Regions from separate parts of the Homo sapiens genome. Here region 1 is linked to region 2. The links are contacts of gene promoters, found by promoter capture Hi-C in blood cells and fetal thymus (Javierre and others, 2016). All regions are on one chromosome and are shown on one strand. Each heading gives the region's core, a stretch centred on a gene start or on the middle of the fragment in contact. The rest is flanking DNA. Distances are from core to core; before and after follow the strand shown.

The links. Contacts are between HindIII fragments. The CHiCAGO score rates a contact against its expected background, and 5 or more counts as called.
Region 1: a fragment that was not itself captured here is called in contact with the fragment with the promoter of TAOK3 in region 2 in 1 of 17 cell types (neutrophils); the score reaches 7.1 in neutrophils.

The regions. Positions count from the first base shown.
Region 1 is chr12:112,402,617-112,405,316 of GRCh38, reverse strand. It overlaps RPL6 (ribosomal protein L6), which reads left to right. Exons shown (of 7, transcript NM_000970.6): 7 at 1-128. The coding sequence ends at 93. Among named protein-coding and RNA genes, the nearest start is that of RPL6, 5.6 kb to the left of the region's middle. The HindIII fragment of the contact is 3,014 bases long and covers 1-2,700 here.
Region 2 is chr12:118,371,527-118,374,226 of GRCh38, reverse strand. It overlaps TAOK3 (TAO kinase 3), which reads left to right and starts at 1,320. Exons shown (of 21, transcript NM_016281.4): 1 at 1,320-1,579. RefSeq lists an enhancer at 827-876 and silencers at 1,197-1,446, 2,231-2,290, 2,391-2,480. The HindIII fragment of the contact is 12,374 bases long and covers 628-2,700 here.

The DNA of each region.
Region 1 (2,700 bases), core at 6-2,505, 6.0 Mb after region 2:
CCAAAAATCAAAGCTATTCCTCAGCTCCAGGGCTACCTGCGATCTGTGTTTGCTCTGACGAATGGAATTTATCCTCACAAATTGGTGTTCTAAATGTCTTAAGAACCTAATTAAATAGCTGACTACATTTTGTGTCTCTTTTTTTAATTTTTGGTTTTTAAAAAAAATTCTTACCTACCTGAAGGTGTAGTTTGACCATGCCAGCTCACCTGGGGGTTTTCCTTAGTAGAGAATGGGATTGGAAGGGAGTGGTGTCTACAAGAGAGCTAGTTTGTTGGCTTTGCATTGCTGTTCTTGGCTTCAGATTGGTTCTTGGTGCCTGGCTAATAACTTTTTCACCCACCCTCTACCATTGTGAAGTGGTGGCATTTTCTCACTCGTCCCTGAAGAAGTCAGTGCTAAACTGTACATGGATGAGAGAAGAGAATAACTGCTGACTACTCAGACAACAAACTCCCATTTCTCCCCGCTGTGCTCAATTCTCAACTCCTCCCCAATAATTATGAGGCCGTGCTCTTGTTTCCCAGGCCAGTGCAGTGGCTGTTCATGGGCACGTTTATCACATATGGCCCCAGTTCCTATTGCCTGGGCTGGTTCAACTCCTGGGCTCTAGCTATCCTCCTGCCTAGACCTCAAGGTATTGGGATTATAGGCATAAGCCACCACACCCTGCCAGATTTGTGCATTTTAATTTTGGCAGATTCTTCCAAACACTCCCAAGTGTTAGACCACTTTATTTGTTCTGGAAATGTACAGAGTACCCATCTTCTTATAGGTAGGTTATCAAACTTGGATTTTTGCCAATGGAAAATGAAAAATGGGCTGTGTGTGCTGGCTTCCACCTGAAACCCCCACATTTTGGGAGGTGGGGCCAGGAGGCTCACTTGAGCCTAGGAGGTCCAGGCTGTGGTGACCTGTGATTTCACCACTGCACACCATCCTGGATGACAGACCCTGTGTCCAAAAAAGGTGAAAAAAGGCTGGGTGCCATGGCTCAACCTGTAATCCCAGCCCTTTGGGAGGCCGAAGTGGGCTGATCAGCTGAGGTCAGGATTTTGAAACCAGCCTGGCGAACATGGTGAAACCCCATCTCCACTAAAAATACAAAAAAAAATTAGCTGGACATGGTGGCAGGTATCTATAATCCCAGCTACTCGGGAGGCTGAGGCAGGAGAATTTGGACGGGAGGCAGAGGTTGCAGTAAGTGACATCACACCACTGCACTCCAGCCTGGGCGACAGAGCAAGACTGTCTCAAAAAAAAAAAGTTGCTAGAATATTTTAAAATGACATGTCATGTTTATATAAGTAACATTTTTATTAAAAAAAAAAACTTGAGCCAGGCACAGTGGCTCACACCTGTAATGTGTGCACTCCAGCCTGGGCAACAAGAGCAAAACTCTGTCTCAAAAAATAAATAAGCCCAGCCTGCGTGTACCTGTGGTTCCAGCTACTTGAGAGGCTGAGATGGGAGGATGGCTTGAGCCTGGGAGTTCGAGTCTTCAGTGAGCTGTGATTGCACCACTGCACTCCAGCCTGGGCAACAGAGCAAGACCCTGTCTCTAAAAAAATAATTTTTCCAAAACAAAAAATTATGAGGACAATGGTTTTACATTTCTGCAAATGTATTTCATGTCTGGCTTCGTAGGAGACAGATTCTTATATCTGCTTTATTCAATCTATTGCAGTATCACATTATGTATTACACCTCAGGAGAACTCCATTCTACACTCGAGTTAAAAGGACAATGTCTTAACAGTAGTATGACAAATTGTTTTAACTTCACAGGTCCCTTTTTAAGGATCTCAGGAACATCTAAAGATCCCTAGATCCGGCCGGGCGCGGTGGCTCACGCCTGTAATCCCAGCACTTTGGGAGGACGAGGCGGGCGGATCACGAGGTCAGGAGATCGAGACCATCCCGGCTAAAACGGTGAAACCCCGTCTCTACTAAAGATACAAAAAATTAGCCGGGCGTAGTGGCGGGCGCCTGTAGTCCCAGCTACTTGGGAGGCTGAGGCAGGAGAATGGCGTGAACCCGGGAGGCGGAGCTTGCAGTGAGCCGAGATCCCACCACTGCACTCCAGCCTGGGCGACAGAGCGAGACTCCGTCTCAAAAAAAAAAAAAAAAAAAAAAAAAAAGATCCCTAGATCCTACTTTGAGAATCATTGCACTAGCCTCTGCATTGTTTCAAAGATTTGGGATCAAACAGATTCTGCCCCTTTTGACCAATAGAATGTGGCATAAGTGATGTGGAGTCTTGCTCTGTCGCCCAGGCTGGAGTGCAGTGGTGCCATCTCGGCTCACTGCAACCTCTGCCTCCCAAGTTCAAGTGATTCTTCTGCCTCAGCCTCCTGCATAGCTGGGATTACAGGCGCCTGCCACTCTGCCCAACTAATTTTTTTTTTTTTGTATTTTTGTATTTTTAGTAGAGAGAGGGTTTCACCATGTTGGCCAGGCTGGTCTGGAACTCCTGACCTCAAGTGATCCTCCTGCCTCAGCCTCCCAAAGTGCTGGGATTACAGACGTGAGCCACCATGCCTGGCATGTGTCTTTATTTTCTTTTACTTACCCACATGAGCTAACTTTCTAAAAGCACATATACTGCTTTTATAACAAAAGATTATTGTTATCTTAAAAAGCAAATTGCAGAAAATTATGTAAAATATCACTTTTAAAAAAGTATACGTGGGAGTGTATA
Region 2 (2,700 bases), core at 71-2,570:
TTTTTCGTACAGACGGGATTTCACCATGTTGGCCAGGCAGGTCTGGAACCCTTGACCTCAGGTGATGAATGGCGTATGATTCTTAAAACACTAGAAGAAACATGTATACTGTTTAGAACACAAACACATTTTGTCAGCTGGAGTTAAAAAGTTAACAATCGAGGGTTCTCTGAGAACTAAGGCCTGTATACATCTGACAAAACTTAGGATCAAAATGTGTTCCTGAGACAATTTCTTCATAAAATGCTAAATTCTAAAGTCCATAAACTTACTTTTGGCGTTAAGAGTAAGGAAAGCAGTTTTCTGTTTCCGGTGTTGATTTGATCAGCATATCCAGTTTCACAAAAATAACACAAATGGGTCTTAGTAGCATGATGCACTTTCACCCCTGGCAGGCACTATCCTTTAGCGTGGATCAAGAGGAGTCTCTGATTATCACATGTTAAACCTGGGTCAAAGCTCGTTATCCTTTGGCCACACGTTCACATAGAATCATTAAAACCTGTGGCCCTGGAAAAAGGTTATATTGAATAGCTTTGCTGAAACCTTGTTAAGCTAATAATAGGGTTCCCCTACCACAGTCTTCCTACTGTCATAAAAACCTACAAACTGAAAATTTCTAAAGCTTTGTCCTTGCACCTATCAAAATGTGCCCCGCATTGAACGCTTAGTTGGGCAAAGTATGCACCTAGTACTGTATATAGATTTTTTTTCCCCCAACGGTATCAAACTGACGGCTGCTGAACTCAATTCAAGGAGAGGCAACTCCCTTGCAAGAGATTTTAAAAAGAAATGGTTTAAATCCAGGAAATTTTTACAAATCCTGGGCAAATTAATGCTATATTAGTTCATGGCAGAATTACTAAGAAAGCTGTGCAAGGTCTAGCGAGAGACTGGGGTCCTCCCCAAAGGCTCTAACATGGTGGTCCCTGGGAATCTCCCAAGAAAAGTAAAGGCGTGGGGAGAAGCGCCATGAACTTTGACCGGAGAGCAGCACAAACAAGACTGACCGCACCCCAGGCGGGCCCGTAGGTTACTAAAGTTGCAAGGTCTTCCGCGTCTGAGGAGACCCCGCCCTGCCCTGTCCCGCCCATCGACAACTCCGCCAATCCTCGGGTTCCATCGACCGCTCGGCTTCCCAGGCTCCATCAATCAAATACCTATATACGGCCCCGGCCCTGTGCCCCGCGATCAGGGAAGGTCAGTAGAGAGCCTATTGGAGCCGAGCTTGGGGCGTGGTCCGGGGCAGGGGGCGGGCGGACTGAGACGGTGGGGCGGGGCGTGCTCGGCGCAGTCCGGTGCGATTGGCCACCCCTGGCAGGAGCCGCACCTCGGACAGCAGCAGCGGCGGCGGCCGCGGGAGGGTCCTTGTGGCGCCGGGCGGCGGGGTCCTGCGTGGAGAGTGGGACGCAACGCCGAGACCGCGAGCAGAGGCTGCGCACAGCCGGATCCGGCACTCAGCGACCGGACCCAAGGATCCGCCGGGGAACAAGCCACAGGAGAGCGACTCAGGAACAAGTGTGGGAGAGGAAGCGGCGGCGGCGGCGCCGGGCCCGGGGGTGGTGACAGCAGGTCTGAGGTGAGAGCACCGGGGCGCGGGGCATGACAGTGGGAGCCGAGGCGGCGGGACCCCAGGCAGAGTGAGGGGAGTTGCGGGAGCGGGCTCGACAGTGCAGACTGTGGAGAGGAGACCCCGGGAGGGACCGGGACAGCGGGTGAGGAGAGGGGACTCCGAGAGGGACCGAGGCAGTGGCTCTGAGTGGAGAGGACTCCGAGAGGGTCCAAGACTGAAAGTCTGAGGGGAGGGGTCTCCAAGAGGGGCCGGGACAGTGCGCGTGAGAGGAAGGGACCCGGAGAGGGGCTGGGGTAGTGGGGTGAGGGGTGGGTGCCTCATGAGGCACTAGGATAGGGGGATGAGGGGAGGGGGTCCCCTGAAGGACCAGGTCCCAGAAAAGGTCAGGGACAGCGGGGAGAGGGGAAGGGTCCCCGAGAGGGGCCGGCACTGAGAGTCTGAGAGATGGGGACCCCGAGAGGGGCTGGGACAGCACCCGGGGAGAGGAGACCCCGAGGTGAGGGGAGGGGACCCAGAGAGAATCCAGGACAGAGTAAAGAGAGGGGACCGGTCAGGGGATGTGAAGACAGGGGATCCCCAGAGGGCTTAGAACAGAGTGTGAGAAGACCCCAGGAAGGGCCAAGACAGTGGGAGAAGAGGAGGGGTCCCGGAAGGGGGCTGGGCTGAGACAGCGGGGCTGAGAGCAGGACACCTAGAGAGAGGCCGGGACAGCGGGTGGGAGCAGGGTGACCCCGAGAGGGGCCAGGACAGCGGGGTGAGAGGAGGGGACCCCCAGAGGGCTCGGGACAGCGCATGCGAGCGTGGGACTCCGAGAGGGGCTTTGAGCGTCGGGTGCAGGCGCGGACCCCGAGGGAGGAGCGGTGCCCCATGGGTGCGGGTCGGGCCCCCAGTCACATAGCGGGGGCCCGGCGTGAGCAGCGAGGGAGCGGGCGGGGGGTCGCGCCCGCTGAGTTGCGGGAGCCCCCCCAAGAACGGCTGCGGCGGGGAGCCTGGGTCGCAGTCGCGGCGTCGGGCAAATAGGAACCGGCTGCAGCGCAGACGAGTGGAGCGGGGAGGTGCTCCCAGGGTCTGGCATCAGCGACCTCCCTGAGGGTGGAGTGTGAGCCCCCGGGACTCCGGGGGACTCC